Linked DNA regions of Homo sapiens: regions 1, 3 and 4 are each linked to region 2. Evidence: promoter capture Hi-C in 16 types of primary human blood cells and fetal thymus (Javierre and others, 2016). All regions are on one chromosome and are shown on one strand. The core of a region is centred on a gene start or on the middle of the fragment in contact, and the rest is flanking DNA. Distances in the headings are between cores, read along the strand shown.

Region 1 (2,734 bases), core at 22-2,521, 1.6 Mb after region 2:
TATTTTATTTATTCATGTAATTGGCCCATCTTTCTCCTCTAGACTTTCATGTCAGTGAGGGTAGATTTTTGTCTTTGTTCACTTCTGTATCCCCAGGGTTTAAAATAGTGCCTATCACACAGTAGGAGCATAATAAATACTTGCCAAATGAAGGCATAATCCATAGGAGTAATGGATGAGGCAGACTAGGATGTTGGGAAATGGTCTACAGAGACTGGCAGGAGGCTTTTGCCATTGTCCTGGTGCTCCAACTGGTGTAGGGGTGGGGAGGAATTGAGAGAGTTGGCAGAGGTGGAATCCATTTGCCTTGATAATTGGTTTGATATGGAAGGTAGAGAGAAGTAGTCATGGGACTGAGTAAGTGCCATGGATGACAGGAAGATGCTTCTGTTATCAGGTAAGCTGAAAGAGAGAGGGCGCAGTATGTCAATAACCAGCAAGGGTTCTGGTTATTGACTGCTACACAACAAACCACTCTAAAACTGAGTGGCTTAGGAGAGCAACTATGTTTTAATCTCCCACAGTTCTTTGGGTTTACCCAAAGCGGATGTGATCAGCTGAGATGTGAGTGATGCATCTTGCTATGGCTGCAGTCATTTGGGGACTCATTTGGGTTGGAACATGCAAGATGGTTCCGTCACACATTTGACATATTTTCGTGGGTTCCATCACATATTTTCGTGGGTTGGCTGGAAGGCTGGGGTCAGCTGGGACAGCAGGCCTCACTCTCTCCAGGTAGTGTAAGGGCTTCCAGCAGGATTGAACTCGTTACGTGGTACGTTAGAGCTCCCAAGAGTGAAAGCTGTCTGGCCTTCTTAGGACTTAAGCCTGTAACTGGCACAGTGTCACTTGTGTCAAATTTATTGGTTAAAGCAGGAACAAGGCCAAAATGGAAGAGCTCCCAATGTTTAAAGCTGGAATAATTATAACAGCAATATAAACAGTGATACTATTGTGTTATAACCCATAGGATAAGATATAAATCCATACTGATATAAATAAATAACTGAATATAAATAAATGGGGAGACAGAACAGCTCTGACAGAGGAATTCTAATTAATGGATTTAGAATGAAAGGGGGAAAAAGCTGGAATAATTTTAACAGCAAAATAAACAGTGATACTATTGTATTATAACCCATAGGATAAGATATAAATCCATATTGATATAAGTAAATAACTGGATACAAATAAATGGGGAGACAGAACAGCTTTGACAGAAGAATTCTAATTAATGGATTTAGAATGAAAGGGGGAAAAAGAACTTTGTCATTTGGTAAACAGCACAGTAATAACTATTGCAGATAGGTTCCACAGATATATGCTAAAATTAGTGGCTGAAAGTTTGAAGAGAAATAGGATATTTGTATAATCTCAAAGTATCTCCCTCAAGATATTTATTAATTATAAAGGGAAATGTAGTGACTTTACAATGGAGAAGCTCAGAAGACACCCCCTTAACCAAGTGATCAAGATCAAGGTTAATATCGCCAGTAAAAAGACATAACAATATCATGAACTCATTGATATGTTGAAGGACACAGCATCACATCTGAGGTATTCTAACCAGAAGTGAAAAACTCGTTCTAATCATGAAAAAACATCGGACAAACCAAAACTGAGGGATACCCTTCAAAAGCGCCAAGTTCGTGAAAGATGAGAAAAGACAGAGGATCTGTCACAGATTGGAGGAGGTTAAAGATCCATGACAACTAAAGGCAATGTGGAAACCTCAGTTGGATCCTGGACCAGAAAAAGTACATTGGTGGAAAAACTGGCAAAATTTAATTAAAGTCTGTAGTTTATAGTATTGTGTCAATGTTAATTTCCTGCTTTTGATGATTGTACTATCATTTTCTAAGATGTTAACATTAGAGAAAGCTGGGTGGAAGGTATGGGAATTGATATTTGTGCAACTTCCTTGTAAGTCTAAAATTTGTTACAAAATAAAAAGTTTTAAAAATCCATCAATTCTATATTCTTGAGTTTTTGTTTTGTTTTTTGAAGAAGGGGTGTTGAGTTTTGGTAAAGAGTATCTTACATGTAGAGAGGCAATCATGACTTCTCCTTACATCTATTATTGTGGTGTATTATAATAAAAGATCCCCTAAAATTGAACCAGTCTTGCAATCCTGGGTAAATTTTTCTTTGCCATGGTGAAATATTTTGTTATTGCGATGTTGGAGTCTTTTTGCTAACATTTTAATTCGAATTTTGCTTCAATATTTGTAAGTGACAATTAGTCTATAATTTTCTGTTTTTGAACTGTCATCAAGTTAAGGTCCTCATGGTATCCTTGCTTTATAAAATGAATGAGAACTTTTCCCTTTAGTTTTCAATGCTTTGGGACAGTATTTGGAGCATAAGGACTACCTGGTTTGAAGGTTTGATAGAATTTCCTTGTGACCATCTGGAGTTAATTTTGAGAGTTATTCACTTCATCTAGGTCTACACGTTTATTTATATAAAGGTCTGCAAAGTAGTCTTACATGACTTTTAAGAAGATGTTTTTTGGTGACTTTGCCTTTCTTATTTCTTATTTTGAGAGCTTGTTGGGAGGTTCTAGCAGGGGAGCACAGCTACTCGTATACCCTTGACCGAAGACTGGTCCTCCCCTATGTGGGATGGTCATCCTCCTTGACTGAGTGTGCAGCTTCCGGAGGGATGCACATGGAGCAATGAGGGAGGAAGAGGATACCCACCTAGCCAGCCAGATCAGCTGGATCAACACTGG
Region 2 (2,700 bases), core at 82-2,581:
AGATCTATATAATAAAACGATGCTTTTCTGTGATCCCTTAACATTCTCTACACTCAGGTGCATGTTCAAAGCATATTTGTTTTACTGTTGCCTAGTTTTCCATGTCATTCATTGAATTATCCAATGCATATTAATTATCAGTCACTTTTCCCATTACTAAGGGTACTTGAGTGAACAGAGCAGACAAAAACCCCACCCTTAAAAAGCTTATATTATTTTCAAGTTGTTGCAACTTTGGGTGTTTTTAAAAAATAAAAATTCCCAGCTGATAAAACCAACTTATTTGACAGCTACCTGCCTCACCAGTAGAACCAAGTTATAGCCAGAATTCAGAAATAACATTTTTGAGCATTTATTGTGTCTGACAATGTGCCAATCACTTTACATTTATTTTAGCTCATTTAATGCTTACAACAACTAGAAGGAGGTACTATTAGGATCCCTATTTTACAGATGAAAAAAGTGAAGGTCAGAGAGATTAGTTAAGCAGAGGGTACAAGATTAGGTTCCAGTTGACTCTTAACAACCATTTCATATTCCAGGTGATGCTTTACAGACATCTGATGAATGGATGGATGAATGAATGCATGCACTTTGGGAACTCCCATTCAGCTTGGCATAAATACTAACTCCTTAGAATACCCTAGAAAAATCTAGACCTTTTGTTGGAAGAAAAGAGTGGGAAGGGTGGTAGGGAATTATTTTTTCGAGTGAATTGAGGCAGATGATCTTACAGATGACTGGGTTCTAGTCAGCATGGTTGCCTTATCTGGTGAGAGATGAGAATTGGGCAGACACCAGTTCTGTCTGCCCTGGGCCCTCAAACTGAGTAGCCTCTGAGATTCAAGTTCATCAGCACAGTGTTGGAGGACAGTTCCTGCAGAGCCCCATGAATCAGAGGAGACTCGGAGGCAGGAGGAACTGGCTATCCTAAAGGTGATTTTAAACCGGGGTAGCTAGAGCCCAAAGAAGGGCGAAACCAGGACTAACTGCCCCATAGCATGAGGGGCAGCGCCTGTAAAATTACATAGGATTTGTAAAGGTGGAAGGCACTGTTGCGCCGGGTAAAGCTTCGCAAGGTCGTGGTAGGGGAAATGATTCACTCCCCTTCACTATTCCCTCGCAGCATGGTCCTCACAACCCCCTTCTCTTTCCCCATTTCCATTTCCGGACTCTTCTCCTGCCCGCAGGGCAGACGCACGCGCAGAGAGATTGCCAGCCCTGGCTGCCAGAGACCCGGAAGCATCGATCGGCTCTGTGCTCGGCTTCTAGACTTGTCGGCGCTCGATTGAGGAGCGTGGCTACGTTGCTTCCGGTGCCTGGCTCCGTTTCCTGCTTTTGGTTCTTACAGTAGTCGGCGTAGGCCTTAGGTGGGTTCGTGCGCCTTCTACCTCGCTGTTTCGGTTTTCCTGGCTCCTCGGCCCTTTTCTCCCCTGTTGCAGCTGGGAGCGGACGAAGCGCGAAGCTGGGGTGGGTACGCGTTTGGCCCGGGTTTGGATCTCGGAGGGGCAGGCTTGGGGGTGAGGAGACTGACTCTGGGGCCGGGCATCGCGTGGCAGCTCCCTTGGACTTCGTTAGGGGGCCTTGGGCGAAGGTGCTTGTGTCTGGAGAGGCGGGAGGCTTGCGCGTACGAAGTAAAGGATAGTTAATGTCAGTCTGCTCGTGCGAGGCGTGGACAGTTCACTGCGCTTTCAGGTGTCTTCCAGCGGCTCCCTTTTGGTGGTGGCGGGTAATTCAGGGTGTCCCTGTAACAACGCAGCCCACGATCAAACCTCGCATGAAACCCTGCAAGAGCCTCCCCTTTGTCCCCCTACCTTCACTTTGACCTCTGCCTCAGTCACTTCCCTTTCGTCGTCTCCTTTGCGACCCCTGCCCCTTCTCCAGATTTCGATTTAGGGGGTCGCAAGGCTTTGAGAAGCGTTACGTTTTACCTGTTACCTGCACAAGTGCAGCCCCTGCTTGTAGGCTCTTCCCTTGTCAATCATCCAATGCAGTTCACATACAGTGGATGCTCTGTAAATACTGTGAGATAAAGGAATATGTGGGGCACACAAGGAAATCATCCAAGTTCACAATTTGCAAGTAAAAACCATGTAAAAAATGCAATAGTGTGGTATATGAGGAAGACAAGTGTAGAGGAGAAAGCAAGGGCTGAATTTCCAGGCCTGATGCTTATTAGCTGTGTGACCTTAGGCAAGTTCCTTACCTGGTAATAGCTGTTAATAATAGCTACTCTTAAGTGTTTACCGCTGATGCAGAACTGTGCTAGAATTCATTTAGTCTTCTGAGTTCTATTGGGTAGGTTCTGTTACCATTCTTATTTTACTGATGAGGACCTGAGAGGTTAAGGAACTTCCCTCAGGCAAACAGCTAGTAAGAAGCATAAATAGGATTTGAATTCACATCTGGCTGATACTGGAATCTGAGTTTAATCGTCATGCCACACTGCTGTCATTGAGCTCCTTTCTTTCAAGTCGGTTAGAGATAACCTTGGAGTCCAGACAGCTTGGTGATGCTGTATACAAATTAATAGGTATGGAAGGACTTTGTAAGTGCACCCATTAAGTAGTTGGCAAACTTCATTAATGTCTAACCTTATGATTTTTACTGGATGTACATTTGCTACTTTGGTCATTTTTCTTCAAATCTACATTTTAAAATTATTTCATTGAGGAGGTGGAAAGAAAATGTCACGTGTCA
Region 3 (2,803 bases), core at 95-2,594, 1.8 Mb after region 2:
TTTCAGTGGAGACAGGGTTTCACCGTGTTAGCCAGGATGGTCTCCATCTCCTGACCTTGTGATCCGCCTGCCTCAGCCTCCCAAAGTGCTGGGATTACAGGTGTGAGCCACGGTCCCCGGCCTACTATCTGCATTTTCAAGAGGTGTTCCTCTGTATTTGCATGAGTGAAAGATTGCTGTGAAATTTCACATAGAGCTTCCATAAGCTTGATTTCCTGAAACTAGTTAATGTAGATTTATATTTCTTTCATGTTGCTATTAGGCACAGCTTTAGTGGTCGCTTTAAGGTTAGTTTCAGCAAATCTCCATATTCACTTTGGGATTCACAGTAGCCCTTTGGGTACTACTGCGTACTGGGTAAGTATGATATAAATTTGATTGTAACTTCTGAATTAAACAGACTGGACCTATTCTTTAGGACCAGTGCACATACCCCTCATTCCTTCAGCAAGTGTGGATTACCCACCAACTGTGGCCAGTGCTATTCTAATGCTGGGAATGCAGTCAGGACGACATGATTGATGCTGAACCAGTTTCCTCAGTGGTCTCTTGGTTGCAGGCAACAAACACAAGTGAGCTTAAATCAAAAGTGGGTGTTTATAAAAAACGTGTATTGGTAGCTCAGAATTAAAGCAGAGAGTATGGGCCAGGAGCGGTGGCTCACGCCTGTACTCCCTGCACTTTGGGAGGCCGAGGGGCGGATCACAAGGTCAAGAGATCGAGACCGTCTTGGCCAGCATGGTGAAACCCTGTCTCTATTAAAAATACAAAAATTAGCTGGGCATGGCACCGCGCACCTGTAGTCCCAGCTACTTGGGAGGCTGAGGCAGGAGAATCGCTTGAATCTGGGAGGCGGAGGTTGCAGTGAGCTGAGATCGCACCACTGCACTCCAGCCTGTTGACAGCGAGATTCCATCTCAAAAAAAAAAAAAAAAAGCAGTATGTTGTCTTCAGAAGGCCTGACACTGGGACCAGAATGCAGGCAGCCACTTGTTGAGCCTGCCTGGGCTCTTGGCCTTGCTTTTCTTATTGCACACCAGCTGCTTTTCTCACCTTTCTGGAGTAATACAAATATCCCAAGAAGATACTACCTCCCATGTGCAGTGCCAAAGTCTGACCAGCCTCTCCTCAACCTGGTCTTTGGCTTCCACCCTTGCGAGAGACTCAGTTCAGTTTTTATCAGATCCCTGCCTATGGATTATAGAGTACTGCCTCAGTTATGAATAAAGTGGCATTTGTTTCTCATTTAGGTAGTGTTTTCCTGTTCATAGCTGTTGGGACCCTGTGAGTAGAGATGTGATGTGTGGTAGGACAGGAATTGGGCATTTCAGGGTTCCTCTACAGTACTATGACCTTCAGACCCTCATCTTGATTTCTCATTGGTGTCAGTTCCACCATTATGGGTGGCCTGAGCAGTGCTGTGGTGCAGTCAGCCTTAGTGACAAGGATTCCAAAATCACAAGTAACAGCTCCAGATGCTGGTAGCAGAGACTCAGCTTCCCAAGGGATATCAGGTCAAGCATGGATTCGTGCCAATTGGCTGTGTATTCCAGTGGACCATCTTGGTTGGCATCAAACTGATGAATGAGAAGCAGTGTACGACAGTAGATGGGGAAGGTGAGAAGCAAGTGAATCAGAAGTATGGGAGAAATGGGAACAGTAGCATGAACGTTTTGGAAGACATTTCCTAACATGAGGGCTTCCAGAGAAACAAAGGGCAAGGGCTGAGGGGCTGTGGCACTTGGCAGGTGAGAGTTGTTAATAGAGCACACCGAGGATAAACAGCTGAACTTCTACTCTCACCTGGCAGTCTACCCAGGATTCATACACTTGTGGGGCTTAAGGGGACATTTGGGTTAGCTTTCCTTGGGACTTGGCTGGGTTTCTTTGCTAGATCTAATTTATTCTCTTATTTCAGCCCAGCGTTCTCCTGAACTCAAGATCCATGTCCATCTAGCATTGCCACTTGGATATCTAGCCACCTCAGCTTTGTCCATAACTTAAATTGCTGTCATCACCCACAAGGCTGCTCTTCCTTCCGTTCTCTTTCTCAGAGAGTACTCAGTTCCTCAAATTAGGAACCTATCATTCTAGACTTCTCCCTCTTCTTGTTCCTTCTCCTTCCTCCAGCCACCAGGTCCCATCATTTCTACTGCAAATATTCCACTCCATTCCCACCTTCCCATTCCCTTTACCACTACCTTACTTAAATCCTCCATCCTCTTTGCTTATGTAGCCTCAACTTCCTACTCTCTTTGTCTCTACTTGGAGTCCCCTCCAATTGGTTTCTACAGTATTAGCCAGCATGACTTTTTTGAAATTAATTTTTATATTTTTAACAAAGCAACAAATGCATTAAAAAATTAAATAATGATCAAAAGTTTGTAACCAAAAAAACAGTTCCTGCTTTATCCCTCCTTGCTTTCAACTATTAGGTTTTTTTTTTTTTTTTTTTGGTATTTACGTCCACATTTCTAAATAATAAGCTTTTACTAATATCTTTAATTTATCAATCATGTATGGGATTTATTAATGAGGATTTGATCCTCCTTTCCAACTGACTAACCAATAAAACTATTGCATATTTTTGATGAATCAATAATTAATATTTACCCTGTTTTAACTATGCAAACATAGTTTGTTGATAAGCCAAGTAAGTGAGCTATAATTGTTTCTCATATAACTTTTCTTTCTGGAGTTAACTGCACTCTTTTTTTCATTTGCTTTGTTTTCTTGATGTTTCTCTCTCATTCTTTCCACATCCTCTAACCTCACAATATAATTTTCCACACAAACCTTTCCA
Region 4 (3,026 bases), core at 273-2,772, 1.2 Mb after region 2:
CCAAGCATCAGTTCATCTTTTGAAGACTGGTGGGAATGAGAAAGTCTGACTTATTCTGATTTATATTTTGTGTATAAATACACACAAAGGGATGGGGTTTAGGTTTTAATTTTTTTTTTTTTTTTTTTGCTACGCTGATTTAATCCTGAAGTATTAGCCATCCTGCCAGTTCCATCATGAGAATACTGGAGATGCATGAAGGTTTTTTTTAGTGCACTTCATATACGAGGACTTGAAAACATTTCACTTTCATTACTTTGAGTGAATAAGCAGACTTGATGCTACATGCAGTGAATATTCTTGGATCATTTTTTATTTTTATAAATTGAATCATGTTGAATGTTCTGAGCCTTAGTGTCTAAAGGATCCTGTAATCTAGGTTTTCATGTTTGTGATCATGTGTATATGAAGAACCTAGCCAGGGGTAAGTTTGCAGCGAGAAATGTATGGTCTATTGGCATGGCATTTGCTAAGTTTTTTTCTTCCTGTTTTTAACATGTTTGTCTTCTGCTTCATTAACCTAGTGTGTAGATGAATGCTATACACTTCTTTTTCCTAGGCTTTAATTCCATCAGTCATAAATTTCTTGTAGGTCTTTCACGTGTTAATAATTCCAATTGAGTCAAGTAAATTTGGAGTAGAATAACTTAGTTCCTAAGTTGAATTTCATTTAACTCTCCAAATAATTTTTCAGAAGGGATTCCATTTTTTGCTAATGATAGAATTGACATTTCCAGCTGGGCATAGTGGCTCATGCCTGTAATCCTAGCACTTTGGGAGGCCGAAGCAGGCGGATCACTTGAGGTCAGGAGTTCAAAACCAGCCTGGCCAAAATGGCGAAACCCCATCTCTACTAAAAATACAAAAAAATTAGCCGGGCGCAGCGATCACTTGTAATCCCAGCTACTACGGAGGCTGAGGCAGGAGAATCGCTTGAACCTGGGAGGTGGAGATTGCAGTGAGCCGAGATCATACCACTGCACTCCAGCCTGGAAAAAAAAAGAATTGACATTTCCATCTTTGTAAAAAATAGTTGAAGGCCGAGTGCAGTGGCTCATGCCTGTAATCCCAGCACTCTGGGAGACCAAGGTGGGACGATTGCTTGAGGCCAGGTGTTTAAGACCAGCCTAGGCAACGTAGAGAGATTGCATCTCTACAAAAAAAAAATTTTTTTGAATTAGCCAGGCGTGGTGGCACATGCCTGTAGAGGAAGCTGAGACAGGAGGATTGCTTAAGGCCAGGTGTTCAAGGTTACAGTGAGCAATGATCGAGCCAGTACACTCCATCCTGGGTGACAAGTAAGACCCTGTCTCAAAAAAAAAAAAACTTGACAAATGTAAAGTTGTTTTCCGCCTTTTCTGTGGGTCTCTCTGCAAGCATGTTCCAAGCACGTGTATTTCCTGCTCTGTTTCTCTGAGTATCTAATTGGTGATTTCCAAGATTGCTTCCTTTGCTCTACTGTGTGGTAGATTGGAAACAGATTCTGGTGCCAGGCTGCCTGTCCAGCTTTTTGCTTTGGGGCAAATTAACAGCACTGCCTGGTGGGATAGGGCCTCATTCATTAAAATGGGGGTAACTTACAATCCCTATTTTGCTGGGTTGTTGGGTTTGAAAATTAAATAATGTTTTGAAAGCTCCAAGGCCATTGCTTAGCATAACAGTCCCCCCTCTTTCTCTCCTCTTACTAAGAAACAAGTGAATATATTTCTTGTGTTTGTTGAGTCTCTTTGTGTGTTTTTTTTTTTTTTTTTTTTTTTGAGATTGTCTTGCTCTGTCACCCAGGCTGGAGTGCAGTGGCATGATCTTGGCTCACTGCAACCTCTGCCTCCTGGGTTCAAGCAATTCTCCTGCCTCAGCCTCCAGAGTAGCTGGAATTACAGGCATGCGCCACCACACCTGGCTAATTTTTGTATTTTGAGTAGAGACTGGGTTTTACCATGTTGGCCAGGCTGGTCTTGAACTCCTGACCTCAGGTAATCCGCCTGCCTTGGCTGCCCAAAGTGCTGGGATTATAGGCATAAGCCACCATGCCCGGCCATGTTCCCTTTTTTAAAATGTGTATGAGGAGGGGGCTTACTATGCAAGCGCTTGGAGGCCAACGAGCACTGAAAATGAGGAGAGAGTTCAAAAATCAAGTTAGATCCTGGGATACGCCAACAAATCCAGACACTACAGTTCTTTCGGAGAAACCTGGGGACGAAAAGTAAGGCTTTGACCTCAGAAAATGAACATACAGGAAAAATAATGTGTCCTAATGTGTCCTAATGAAATTTCTCTAGTATTCACATGTTATAAAATGTTAGGAAGAAAGAAGATGTGTCCTCCTACAAGCCATAAATCAGAATTCTAATAATCTAAAGCTAATTAGAAAAATATTACATGTTAAATATTAAATATTAGAATAGAAAAATGTATGAGGGAAAAAAATTGAGACACAGCTGAATTTTTCAGGCTGTTCCAGCACTAAAAAAAAAATACAGGAGAAGAATGTCACATATTTTCCTCTTCCTCCCCCTCCAGATTCCATAATATCAAATTCATAACTTTTCATTTGCGCATGCCTTATTTTCCATTCCTTGTTTGTCACTAATCCTGTTAGTAAAAGGATTCCCCCACCTATGTTCATAATTAAGTTTTGGTCTAAAAAGAACTACAAACAGAAGCACAGTTCCCTAGATTTCTAATTTTTTTTTATTTTATCACAGCCAGTTAACTTATTACATTGGATACTTAAACACATAGTACCATAAACTGGATGTGGTCTTGTAGCCGCCAGATCTTCAGTTTTGACTTTGGCCCAATTCTCCTAGAAGTACTTAATTTTAATTCATTTTATTACCTAACGTCCTATTAATAATCCCGTTGGTTTCAAAGTATATTCTTAGGTTTCACAAGAGGCTGAAATTTGGTCTTAGGGGTTGTCACTTAAAAATAACTAATGTAATTTTTGGCCGGGCACGGTGGCTCATGCCTGTAGTCTCAGCACTTTGGGAGGCCAAGGCTGGCAGATCACGAGGTCAGGAGTT

What was found. Contacts are between HindIII fragments. The CHiCAGO score rates a contact against its expected background, and 5 or more counts as called.
Region 1: a contact is called between a fragment that was not itself captured here and the fragment with the promoter of SNRPB2 in region 2, in 1 of 17 cell types (total CD4 T cells). The highest score is 5.3, in total CD4 T cells.
Region 3: a contact is called between a fragment that was not itself captured here and the fragment with the promoter of SNRPB2 in region 2, in 7 of 17 cell types (total CD8 T cells, non-activated CD4 T cells, fetal thymus and 4 more). The highest score is 8.7, in total CD8 T cells.
Region 4: a fragment that was not itself captured here is called in contact with the fragment with the promoter of SNRPB2 in region 2 in 3 of 17 cell types (non-activated CD4 T cells, activated CD4 T cells and naive CD4 T cells); the score reaches 6.6 in non-activated CD4 T cells.

Annotation. Positions count from the first base shown.
Region 1 is chr20:18,292,672-18,295,405 of GRCh38, forward strand. All of the region lies in intron 1 of ZNF133 (zinc finger protein 133), which reads left to right. It also overlaps the pseudogene RN7SKP74. Among named protein-coding and RNA genes, the nearest start is that of ZNF133, 5.5 kb to the left of the region's middle. The HindIII fragment of the contact is 9,924 bases long and covers 1-2,734 here.
Region 2 is chr20:16,728,695-16,731,394 of GRCh38, forward strand. SNRPB2 (small nuclear ribonucleoprotein polypeptide B2) reads left to right here and starts at 1,332. Exons shown (of 7, transcript NM_003092.5): 1 at 1,332-1,470. RefSeq lists enhancers at 443-1,311, 1,370-1,419, 1,470-1,589 and a silencer at 1,740-1,789. The HindIII fragment of the contact is 9,448 bases long and covers 1,069-2,700 here.
Region 3 is chr20:18,569,752-18,572,554 of GRCh38, forward strand. No RefSeq gene overlaps it. Among named protein-coding and RNA genes, the nearest start is that of SMIM26, 3.7 kb to the left of the region's middle. The HindIII fragment of the contact is 2,280 bases long and covers 205-2,484 here.
Region 4 is chr20:17,972,328-17,975,353 of GRCh38, forward strand. The region is part of intron 2 of MGME1 (mitochondrial genome maintenance exonuclease 1); the gene reads left to right. Among named protein-coding and RNA genes, the nearest start is that of MGME1, 4.8 kb to the left of the region's middle. The HindIII fragment of the contact is 5,566 bases long and covers 1-3,026 here.